Linked DNA regions of Homo sapiens: region 2 is linked to region 1. The links are contacts of gene promoters, found by promoter capture Hi-C in blood cells and fetal thymus (Javierre and others, 2016). All regions are on one chromosome and are shown on one strand. Each heading gives the region's core, a stretch centred on a gene start or on the middle of the fragment in contact. The rest is flanking DNA. Distances are from core to core; before and after follow the strand shown.

Region 1 (6,473 bases), core at 3,672-6,171:
TTGCGTGAGCCGAGATTGTCCCACTGCACTCCAGCCTGGGCAACAGAGCAAGACTCCATCTCAAAAAAAAAAAAACCTATGAAACCAAATTAGCCCAGTGTAGTGGCGGGTGCCTGTAGTCCCAGCTAGTAGGGGGCTGAGGCACAAGAATCTCTTGAACCCGGGAGGTGGAGTTGCAGTGAGCCGAGATTGCGCCACTGTAGTCCAGCCTGGGCGACAGAGTAAGGCTCTATCTCAAAAAAAAAAAAAAGAAAAATTATATGAAGCCTTCTCTTCACAGGATACCTTATGTCACAGCTCAGTGTGTAGAACAAGTGAGTCAGGGCTGCTACAGCTAGGCTGGAGTGGGGTGGGAGGCACCCATGGGGGGCGCATTAGTAACCACACAGGAGCCGCTCTGTGGAGATTGAGGCCTTTTCCTAGCTGTGTTAGCTCTGAACAAAGCTCTCGGTTCTTAGTGCTCTCACTAAGTTCCTTTCCGACTGAAATCTGTCAAGGTTTGTCAACCAAAACTCTCGACACTCATAAAACATTATTACACATTGGTAACATGGGTGGTACTGTACCAGGAACCAACATAACAAGTTCCTGTTTTCAAAGAGCTGCCTGTTTAATGAAAGAGACAGCAAGAAAGCCACCGTTACCGTATAGATGAGAAGTGGAGGCACGCAGGGGTGTGTGGTTCCACACTTCAGTGACAATAAGTACCTCAAGTCTGGTGATTCCAGGTCGGGGAGGAGGGTCTTGGGAAGTTTCCAAGAGAAACTGGTGCCTGGATTGCACCTTAAAGGAAGAGTGGGAGTCATCCAGGTGGGTGGACATGAGGGAGGGATAAGTCGGGGGGTTGCAGGGGAGGATGGTGACACGAGGGAACATCTTTCTAGCCACAAAGAACCACTTGCTGGGGATGGGAGAAGAATGTGGCCAGTCCAGGGAATTATAAGTAAATCAGAGGGCCACACGTAGAGGATGAGGGCGGCGCTGTGGTGGGAGGTGGGAGAAGGCAAAGGTCATGAAGAGATATCCAATATCCAACTGATCACTAATACCTTGAGGGCCATGCTTGGGAATATAGGTGAGAGAAACTCAGTGAAGGATTTTAAGCAGGCGAGAGACACCACCATATCTGTGGTTTAGAAAGAGCATTATGGCAGTGTAGAGGACAGATTGGCAAGAGAGCAAGACTGGAAGCAGAGAAACCAGTTAGGAAGCTATTGCTGTGGTCCAGGCAAGAGACAATGAGAGCTAGGCAGCAGCAATGGAGAGGAAGAACCAGGTGGGAGAGCTATTTAAGGACAGAATTAACATGACTCCAGGAGCCATAGAATTTTGGGAGAAATAGAAATGAAGAACCAAGCAGCTTGGGTGGTCAGTGTTGCACAGCAGGGATGACCCCGGCTTGGTTTTGCACTGTTAATTTAATCACAATTACATTTATTCATTATCTTCTTTCCTGATGCTCTAAATCACACTCTAGAACAAAAATGAACAATTTTCTGATAGAGATGGTTTTCTTTTAAAGACAGACTTTAATTTCCTATTTATAAAAACATACTTAAAATACATTTAATCTACTTGCTGCTAAAACTGTATTATTTTTGGCATTTGATGGCAAACAATCTGATGGAAGGGAGGGTAGGTATAAATGATATAAAATTGGCTAGGCACAGTGGCTCCTGGCCAGGCCTGTAATCCCAGTACTTTGGGAGGCCAAGGCAGGCAGATCACCTAAGGTCAGGACTTCGAGATCAGCCTGGCCCACAAGGTGAAATTCCTTCTCTACTAAAAATACAAAAAAATTAGCTGGGCATGGTGGCGGACACCTGTAGTTCCAGCTACTTGGGAGGCTGAGACAAGAGAATCACTTGAACCTGGGAGGCAGAGGTTGCAGTGAGCCGAGATCACACTGCTGCACTCCAGACTGGGTGACGGTGCGAAACTCTGTCTCAAAAAGAAAGAAAGAAACAAAATCGGCCATGGGTTGATTTTTTTTTTTTCTGTCTCAGAAAGAAAATTGGCCATGGGTTTTTTTTGTTTGTTTGTTTGTTTTTTTTTTTTTGAGGGTCTTGCTCTGTCACTCAGCCTGGAGTCCAGTGGTGCAATCATGGCTTACCACAGCTTCAACCTCTAAAATTCAAGCGATCCTCCCACCTCAGCCTCCAGAGTAGCTAGGACCACAGGCATGCACCACCATGCCCAGCTAATTTTTAAACTATTTTCTAGAGATGGAGTCTTTTTTTTTTTTTTTTTTTTTGAGACAGAGTCTTGCTCTGTCGCCCAGACTGGAGTGCAGTGGCGCAGTGGTGCAATCTTGGCTCACTGAAACCTCCACCTCCCGGATTCAAGCGATTCTCCTGCCTCAGCCTCCCGAGTAGCTGGGATTACAGGCACCTGCTACCACACCCGGCTACTTTTTTATATTTTTAATAGAGACTGGGTTTTACCGTATTAGCCAGGATGGTCTCGATCTCCTGACCTCATGATATGCCTGCCTCGGCCTCCCAAAGTGTTGGGATTACAGGCATGAGCCACCGCACCCGACCAAGACAGAGTCTTGCTATATTGCCCAGGCTGGTCTTAAACTACTGGCCTTAAGCGATCCTCCTGCCTCAGCTTGCCAAAGTGCTGGGATTACAGGCATGAAACACCATGCCCAACTGATAATTACTAAAAGTAGGTGACTATGGGGATTCTTTATTCTATTTTTGCATATGCTTAAAATGTTTTTAAAATGCTTTTAATCTAATAGATAATATATTGATGACATTGCACATAACACATAACTTTAGAGAGAGATTTGACAATATTTATTTTCATAACCCTTGAATTTGCAATCCCTGTTCTGGAAATTTATACTTTAAAAATAGCTGAAATATGGTGAAACAGGGAATGGGAAAGAAAGAAAGCCAAAGATACTCACCGAAGGACAAACAAGGAACTCACTGAGTAATTAAGACATATGAATGTGATGGAATATTATGCAACCATGAAAATTATGCATATGAGCATCATGTAGCAATGTGGGAATTGAGCAATATAATAATATGTTCTAGAAGTAGGATCACAGCTCCACATAAACTCAGGAGGAATCTGTAAGCTATTACAACTGTGGAAAAGATGCCAATCTGGCCCCAGCGACCTCTCTGACTTGTCTTCCACTACCCCTTCCTCTCCATGTCTCCCATCCTGCTTTAGCATCCCTGACTTCCTGACTCTCTCTCAAGCACTCTAGGCTCAGTCGTATCTAAAGCCTTTGCATGTACAGTCTCTTTGCCTGGAAAGCTATTTGCACAAATACCTAAGTGGCTCGCTTTATTCATTCATTCAGCAAAGCTGATTTTATTCAGATTGCTGCTCAAATGCCTCCAAATCGAAGACTTCTTTCCTCCACCCCCATCTAAATAGCACCCCATCCCATCATTCTTTGTCTCCTTAGCCTGCATTATTTTTCTTCATATCACTTATCACCACCTGAAGTTATATCTGCATTTGGTCCTTTTCATGGCTGTATTTCTAACACTTAGAGCAGGGGTTACTACATAGCAAGCACTCAATAAAGATTTATTGACTGCTGACTGACAGAACATAAATGCATGCATATGAAAAGAAAAGACTGAAAAGAATCTTAAAGAAATGATCGTTTGTGTTATAATGAAAGGAAATTCAGTATTTTCCCTACATTTTTCTGTAGTGTTATATTGCTTTTAACAATTTAAAAGTAAAATTATGAATCATTTAAAGCATGTAAGTAACATAATAAATGATTAGCACAGAGACTCATAGTTGAGTCTTTAGTCTCAAAAGTCTTAAAGTCTTTAGTTTAACCCATAAGATCACTTTAGAAGAAAACTCTAAAAAATAAAGAAACATAGAGGCTGGGAAGGGTGTGTGTGTTGTTGGTGGGGGAGGTGTGGATGGTTAATGGGTACAGAAAAAATAGAATATATAAGATCTACTGTTTGATAGCACAACAGGGTGACTATATTTATCCTTTGTTTACAAACAACCCGTTGTGCTCTTTTAGTTATTTTTAAATGTGCAATAATTTATTGCACATTTAAAAATAACTAAAAGAGGCCTGGTGTGATGGCTTACACCTGTAATCCCAGCAGTTTGGGAGGCCAAGGCAGGAAAATCACCTGAGGTCAGGAATTCGAGACCACCCTGGCCAATGCAGTGAAACCCCATCTCTACTAAAAACACAAAAATTAGCTGGGCATGGTGGTGCGCATCTGTAATCCCAGCTACTCGGGAGGCTGAGGCAGGAGAATCGCTTGAACCCGGGAGGCAGAGGTTACTATGAGCTGAGATCACGCCATTGCACTCCAGCCTGGGTGACAAGAGTGAAACTCTGTCTCAAAATAAATAAATAAATAAATAAAACTAAAGGTATAATGGGATTGTTTGTAACACAAAGGATAAATGCTTGAGGGGATGGATACCCCATTCTCCACAATATGATTATTAGGCATTGCATGCCTGTATTGAAACATCTCATATACCCCATAAATATATACACCTACTATGTACCCACAAAAATTAAAAATAAAAATATTTTAAATGTGGAAGTAAAAACAAAACAAATACAACAGCAAAAACACCAGCAGCCAGCAGCTTACCAGTCTCTGAGGTGGCTGTCTTCTGTATCCAGTCGCTGGGTTGGGAATCACTTGTTTTAAGGTCATTGTCCTCTTTTCTGCTTTCAGCATTGGAGCCCCTGAGAAATTTGTTGACAGTTGAAGTCTGGGGCTTAGTTTCTCCTTCTGAGGAAGTTTTCTTCCTTGTTTGACTCATGGTGAAGTTGATGGGGGTAGTTCCCAATAAGACATCTTCCTGTTGCTTTCTGTTTTCTAGGATTTCTAAGAAGAAAAGAAGATTCTGTCAAGCCTGTGTTCAATCAAAATATCCTCCCCTACATGACTGCCCCCCACTCCCTGCCGCACCACCTTTCTTTTTCTGTTTTTTTATTGCTGTTAATGTTTAACATGAAAATAAGAATGATGTAACCCAGGATCCAGAAGCCAATACAAACTCAAAGCAATTTGAGTTTTTAACTTTGCCCTATTTCATTGTGTGAGATACAAGTCATTAAGCATGACTTTGGCAAGCACATCAAGTGTGTCAACACATCTTAAATTACAGCTGTCAATTAGTTACCTGAAGACTTAATATGCCTTTAAAAGGGACTGGCCATTTGCAAAGCTGTCCCCAGAGGAGTTTGCCTTCAGCGACCTCTGCCTTCTGGTGACCCCCACCTCCTTCCTTTGCACATAAGCTCCTTTTTCTCTTTGCATATTCATATTTTCTCTACCCCCAACCCTGCACCACCACCCCACTGAAACATGTTGGCAGTAAAGAATTCATTCATTCCATAAATAGTTTTAAAGAATCTACTGTGGGCCAGTTAATGTTCTAAATGCAAAAGATTCAATGACGAACAAGAGACAGTTCTTGTCTTTGATGGGATCTTAACCTGGTGGGAAGATGGACCTGTATGCCATTGATTGAGTGGGACAAGAGCCAAGAGATGGGAGGTGGTCAGGGAACCCACAGTAAACTAAGCATGCCTTGGAGAACAGACTTGGAACAGTGAGTGACATTGCCTGGGTTTTGAAGGACTGCGAGTTAGCTTTTTAAGAGAGGGAAGAGTATCCCAGGCAGAAGAAAGGGTAAGCTCAAGAGCTCCCAGGCAGGAACGGCTGGAAGAGCCTAGCATTGGAGGTGGGGATGTGGGTCAGGGGGTGTGGAGGTTAGGGGTGAGGTCTGGTATGAATTGAAGCTAAAAAGGATTCGTAAAGGTCAATCTATTATCTCTCCTGAAATTTGCTTATATTTTATGGGAGGGCTAAGGACTTAAACTAAAGGGATACACAGAAGTGTTTTGTTTTGTTTTGACATAGAGATGGATTTTCACCATGTTGGCCAGGCTCGTCTTGAATTTCTGGCCTCAAGTGATCCGCCCACCTCGACCTCCCAAAGTGCTGGGCTTAAAGGTGTGAACCATCATGCCCAGCAGAAGTATTCTTGAAATTACAGTTTTCATAGTCTCCTCTCTAATAAAATAGCTCTTTCTGTAACATTATGTTCCAGAATGGTCCAAGAAACATTTTACACAGGGAATCCTAAAAATGGACCTTGCAGAGCCCACCTCCACTCGTGAGGGCTGGAATGTTCCATGCACTTGGAGCACTGCTTTGGAAGTCACAATTGGACATTCCATTTTTCTTTTAAAATCTTCCTTTCATATTAGAGCAGGGCCCAGCCCTGGTTTACCCAGCAACAGACAGCAGTGGAACTAAACAATTACTCCATGCACAGCAGCACAGCTGACTAGAGTCTCAGGGGGTTAGGTGGAAAAGAAGAAGGAAAGGGGCGCTAACTCATAAATCTAAACATGACCTGCAGCCCTGGCTGCCTCACCCTGATTCCACCATCACCCCAGGCCTTTCTCAATTTGCTACTCTTCTGGCCCC
Region 2 (6,390 bases), core at 306-2,805, 44 kb before region 1:
TTCTCCTGCCTCAGCCTCCCAAGTAGTTGGGACTACAGGTGTGCGCCATCACACCCGGCTAATTTTTGTATTTTTAATAGAGACGGGGTTTCACCATGTTGGCCAGGCTGGTCTCAAACTCCTGGCTTCAAGTGATCCACCCGTTTTGGCCTCACAAAGTGCTGGGATTACAGGTGTAAGCCACCATGGCTGGCCTATAATATTTGATTTAAAAAGAAAAAAATAGCTGTTAAGAGCAAAAGACAACTGTAGAGGGAGTAAAAAGGGGAATTTGGAAATCAACAACTATAATCAAATAATAGGTCTGCTTTACCTGGCCATGGACACCAGTCTCATGTGTTCCCTATAAATTATAAAAGTCCTGGGCCTTACGGATTTATTTTTAAAAATCTTTTTTTTTTTTTTTTTGAGATGAGCTCTCGCTCTGTTGCCCAGGCTGGAGTACAATGGCGCCATCTCAGCTCACTGCAACCTCCACCTCCCAGGTTCAAGCGATTCTCCTTCCTCAGCCTCCCGAGTAGCTGGGACTATAGGTGCCTGCCACCACGCCCGGCTAATTTATGTATTTTTAGTAGAGGCAGGGTTTCACCATATTGGCCAGGCTGGTCTCAAACTCCTGACCTCATGATCTGCCCACCTCAGCCTCCCAAAGTGCTGGGATTACAGGCGTGAGCCACTGTGCCCGGCTGCTAAAAAAATCTTTTATTTGATTTTTTATTTCTAGAACTTTTTTCCCCAAATTGCTATGGGGTTTTAAAGCTGCCTTTCAGGAAGTAAACATTTTGATGGTAACTTGTAGATTTAGGTCGAGATTCTAGGACTTAATCTCCACTGATGTAGCAACTCACCTTGGAGGATTTTTGAGGTTCCGTGAGAGCCCGGCCCTGAACTATTCCACTGCTGATGTAAGAAATTCCTTTTAGTGGACTAAGTCAGTCATTCTGCAGTTGGAGTGAAAGACTTAAAATATAAAGTACATGTGGGAGGGATAACACATTATACTGAGCCATGAATAATACCTAATCCTTTTCTGAGAGAAATTTTAAGAAATCAAAGGAGCAAATCACACACAGACTGCTTGTTAACAAAAATAAGCTTCATCCAATACCAAGTTTTAGCACAAGTCAAACTGCACTGAAATGTAGACATGTTAAATATTATTGTATTGAACATGACAATCTCTGTGTACCAGTGCTTTTTCCTCTTCAGTTATTCTGATGGGTTTTGTGTGTGTGTGTGCATTTGTCCTCCCTTCTCAATTTCCTCTTATGCTAATACCACCTTCCAATGCATTTCTCTCCTCAATGAAACATGGCCTTTAAGCCAGCTCATTATCTCTCCCTCCCCAAAGACTCAACTCATGGGTTACTAGCTCTTAAAGCCTAACCAGTAGCTTCTACTTGCCTGTGTGCATGCAAAAAATATCTGATTTTCAATGTGTACCTAGATGGATTTTATTTGTAGAGTATACTTCTATTAAAGGAGAAAAGCAGGCCACGTGCGGTGACTCACGCCTGTAATCACAACACTTTGGGAGGATGAGGCGAGTGGATCAACTGAGGTCAGGAGTTTGAGACCAGCCTGGCCAACGTGGCGAAACCCCATCTCTACTAAAAATACAAAAATTAGCCGGGCATGGTAGTGGGCACCTGTAATCCCAGCTACTCGGGAGGTTGAGGCAGGAGAATCGCTTGAACCCAGGAGGCAGAGGTTGCAATGAGCCAAGATTGTACCATTGCCGTCCAGCCGAGGCAAGAAGAGTGAAACTCCGCCTCAAAAAAAAAAAAAGAAAAAGAAAAAGGAAAAAACCAAAACAATGTACCAGATCCCAAAATGGCTATATGTCAGTTACAGTGTCATCAGTAATTGTCCTCATCTAATGCTCTACAGATTTTCTATACATCTAGATTTCTTCTCATTATACTTTACTATGACTATGATGAAACTAACTACTGGATCTTAAATACTCCTAAAAAAAATTTTTGAACATTCAATGTGCTTTGAAAAAGAAAAGCTAAGCTTTTATGAGTTAAGTGAACAGCAATAAGAATGAAATTTCTAGGTTATAATAAAATGGTTAGATTGAAAAATCTTTTTTCATTGTTTTGGACTGCACAGAATGCAGGCATTTTGTATTGAAGACATCTAAGTGCTTGATGAAGAATTTTGAAATAGCCAAAGAGGAAAGCTTAAACATCAGTTTCTCCAAAGATTGACTTCATCTAATTAAAATAAATAGGTAAATAAATAAAACTGGAAAACTGTTACAGCATTTTTAGGAAAATGAGTCCTTACTCTACACAAAAAAGAGAAAAATGCATTATGGAAGATTCCAAGTATGTGAAACTTTTACAGATAGGTTGTCCTCAGTGAACTTTCTTTTTCTCCAACTGTAAGTGACCCATTCACCAATTACCTGTCTATTCCACCCATCCATAGAGAGGTGGGGGTGGGAGTGGCTCAGCTGAGCTCTAGCCAGAATGAAAGTAGGGTGGCTGACTAGGGAATGGATGGGAAGAATGCCCATGGGCTCAAGCAGGGAACTGTGGGGAAGGATTTCCCAGTTAGGAATTAAGCCAGATAAAGGAACATATGAGTTAAGGAGCTGTTGAGCTATATAGCTGGGATTTTTTTCTACGAGAAAATAAGGCATCTCTGTAACACAGTCAATAGGGTGATTGTCACATATTTTAAGAATGAGATTTTTTCGCCGGGTGCGGTGGCTCATGCCTGTAATCTCAGCACTTTGGGAGGCCTAGGCGGGCGGACCACGAGGTCAGGAGATCGAGACCATCCTGGCTGACATGGTGAAACCCCGTCTCTACTAAAAATACAAAAAATTAGCCGGGCGTGGTGGTGGGCGCCTGTAGTCCCAGCTACTCGGGAGGCTGAGGCAGGAGAATGGCGTGAACCCGGGAAGCGGAGCTTGCAGTGAGCCGAGATCGCGCCACTGCACTCCAGCCTGGGCGGCAGAGCGAGACTCCGTCTCAAAAAAAAAAAAAAAAAAAAAAAAGAGATTTTTTTCCCATGTGGTCTCCCATGGTCCAGAAAGAAACCGATAGACGGACATAATGGTGAAGCTGATTTTGGCTGTACTAAAGTAGGAAATCTGATGATTAGAAGTAGCCATAGAAGATAATGAGCTTTTCTTCACAGGAGGTGGTGTTTAGATAAAACTGGATGGCTCGCTATAAAAAGTATGCAAGCACTGTATTAGAAGGTTGAAATAGAGAACCTTCTTAAGGCGTTCCAGCCCTGAAAGTGTGGCACTCTGTGAAATGCCGACCCAGTTCCCACACAGGTTACACAAGCCTGGGTATTCACTGAAAAGCAGAACATGACACGATAGGATCATAATGGAGTTCACTGAACACTGATTAGAAATGGTGTGAATATATGTTTGCCTCCAACTGAGATTTCAACTGAAGTTTCAAAATTATTAAAGCCTTTTAGGATGAAGAGTCATATCACTAAATTTATTAGTTCCAATAACTGAATTTATAATGAATATTATTATTGCAATATTACACATAACTTTAGTATTTTTCTTTCTATAGTGTCAAACAGTTGCCACACTACAGTCCATAAATGGCAAGAACATAGGTTAAAAATTGCTCCAATTTTTTTTTTTTTGAGACAGATTCTCGCTCTGTCGCCCAGGCTGGAGTGCAGTGGCACAATCTCGGCTCACTGCAACCTCTGCCTCCCACATTCCAGAGATTCCCCTGCCTCAGCCTCCCGAGTAGCTGGGATTATAGGCACCCGCTACCACACCCAGCTAATTTTTATATTTTTTAGTAGAGACAAGGTTTCGCCATGTTGGCCAGGCTGGTCTTGAACTCCTGACCTCAGGTGATCCACTGGCCTTGGCCTCCCAAAGTGCTGGGATTAAAGGCATAAACCACCGCGCCCAGCCACAAAAAATTGCTCCAGTTTAAAGTGGTGCATAAAAGTGAAATCAGAGACTTTAGATCTACAAGTATAAATACTGTAATGCAGATATGTGCACAAATTTTTCACTAGTAGGAGAGGCTAAGTTACTCCACTTGTTTAGCAGTCTGCCTCAAAACCAGAAGCCCAATTTATCTCTGCTGTTAAAAATAATCTTGACCTGAAACTTATCTTTTTGGAATACTTCTAGTTACCTTCAGAATTGGGCTCACTTTCAAAACTGAAGATACTTGGACTAACAGGAAATGAGTTCCTTTCCTTTCCGGAGGAAGTCCTTTCTTTAGCGTCTTTAGAGAAATTATACATTGGGCAAGACCAGGGATTCAAACTTACCTATGTGCCAGAACACATTAGGAAACTGCAGGTAAGCCTCCCCAAATGAGCAGGCTAAGAAGCACCTGTCACTGCCTCTTAAATTGGCTGAAACTGAGAAAATATGAGGTCTCCACAGGCTGGATGTAGAATCATCCATACTAGATTTCCAGCTTCAGACAAGCAATCATTTTTACATTTTGAGGTTTCCACTGTCCGTGAACAACTCTTCAACATTTCATTGTGATTGCTGTTGGATATGTCCTGCCATACTTCTTTCCACTGTGTGATTTGGTGTGTTTCATTTGCAGAAATTGAGTCATAACTCTTTCCATTTAATTTCCACTTTTTATAAGTAGCCCCCTGAAAACTGGACTATTTTGAAGTTAAAGAGTATCATACAAGTGACATGCTGGGAGCCTACATTTTGGTGCCCAGGATTTCCTGTAAGGGGAAGTGTGACCTCTCTCCCTGATTGGAAAAGGGAAATCATGTTGCACCAGCTTCCTGGATCTGCAGGGCTGTGAGGAATACTTGCAAAGCAACAGGATAACTTCATTCAAAGTAGCCATAGTAGGGTGTCTTCATATATTCATCCTTTAAAGAACTGTTTTTTTTTTTTCATGTTCCTGTTGCTGCACTTTTTTTTTTGACAGAGTTTCGCTCTTGTTGCCCAGGCTGGAGTGCAATGGCTCACTGCAACCTCCACCTCCCGGGTTCAAGCGATTCTCCTGCCTCAGCCTCCCAAATAGCTGGGATTATAGGCGCCCACCACCACACCTGGCTAATTTTGTATTTTTAGTAAAGACGGGGTTTTGCCATGTTGGCCAGGCTGGTCTCGAACTCCTGACCTCAGGTGATCCACCTGCCTCGGCCTCCCAAAGTGCCGGGATTATAGGCATAAACCACCGTGTCTGACCTGCTGCACTCTTAATGATGATAAAGTAGGCGTGGGCCACCACATAACCCCAGTCATGCAATGCCATGCACAGCATAGGTAGTTCTCACTATGACACAGGGTGTCTCTTCCTAATTCTCCATTCCTTTGCCCTGTGTTCATAGAACACCTTTCATCAGCTTTTCCTTTGTACCTGTCATGCCACAATCTTAGGGTGAAGTACAAACATTAGATTTTTGCCCAGTGAAGTTGAAAATAGTTATTTTGAATACATTCAAATCCATTCCCTGTGCATTTTGGCTACTTTCACTGAGGCAATATTGGGTTGATAGTTGAGGCAATTATCATTCTGTAGCAACTGCCACAGACAATTAGCTATTAAAAAAGGAGTTAATGATAAATGTAGTTAAATTATTCAAATTATTTTTCCATAAAGTTCTGGTGAAACAAATAAGCACTAGATGTCTGTAGTCTCTTTTCCCTGCATAAATGGAAACTAAGTCTAATGGATTTACTCAAAAATAATTTTGGGTCTTGATGATGGTCCTTTAGACATGCTTTTTCCCTTAACTCAATGCGTAATTTCCCCACTGAAAGTGAAAAAAAAAAAAAAAAAAAAAAAAAAAAAAAATGCATGAGCACCCACAGGTGATTCTGGTTATTATAATTAATTAATCAAGGTATATTATTATGGTACACTCATGTTATTTCAGAGTCTCAAAGAGCTATATATAGAGAACAATCATCTGGAGTACCTGCCCGTATCCTTGGGGTCAATGCCTAACCTAGAAGTTCTTGATTGCCGGCACAATTTGCTTAAGCAACTTCCAGATGCCATTTGCCAAGCACAAGGTGAGGAAACTTAGTAGATTCACAGCCTAGCAGAGTTTGTGGCCAGCATTTCCTATGGCAAATGGCTTCCTTGCTTTGCTAAAGACCTATCTCAGTGTTCAGAGAACTGAGTCTATCCCATTACTTCCTTGCAGGGCTCACTTAGCGACATGGGGGAGGCCAGGTGTCCTGATTAGTATAGCTAAGAGTCTTGCAAAGGCAGTTAAGTCATTTATTAAAATGGAAAGGTAAATAGCGACTGCTAAGAAAATTAGCATTTACCCATACATTTATTACACTACCAACAATAATTTACTGTACACTTACTACATGCCAGAATTTGGAGTTGGGATCCTGCAGTAAATTTCATCTAGGTCACGGAGTCACTTGAGTAAAAG

Evidence for each region. Contacts are between HindIII fragments. The CHiCAGO score rates a contact against its expected background, and 5 or more counts as called.
Region 2: a contact is called between a fragment that was not itself captured here and the fragment with the promoter of LRRC31 in region 1, in 1 of 17 cell types (total B cells). The highest score is 5.3, in total B cells.

What each region holds. Positions count from the first base shown.
Region 1 is chr3:169,865,014-169,871,486 of GRCh38, forward strand. LRRC31 (leucine rich repeat containing 31) reads right to left here and starts at 4,922. Exons shown (of 9, transcript NM_024727.4): 1 at 4,620-4,922. The coding sequence starts at 4,794. The HindIII fragment of the contact is 9,706 bases long and covers 1-6,473 here.
Region 2 is chr3:169,824,618-169,831,007 of GRCh38, forward strand. LRRIQ4 (leucine rich repeats and IQ motif containing 4) reads left to right here. Exons shown (of 6, transcript NM_001080460.3): 3 at 4,142-4,315; 4 at 5,875-6,013. Among named protein-coding and RNA genes, the nearest start is that of LRRC34, 15 kb to the left of the region's middle. The HindIII fragment of the contact is 924 bases long and covers 1,094-2,017 here.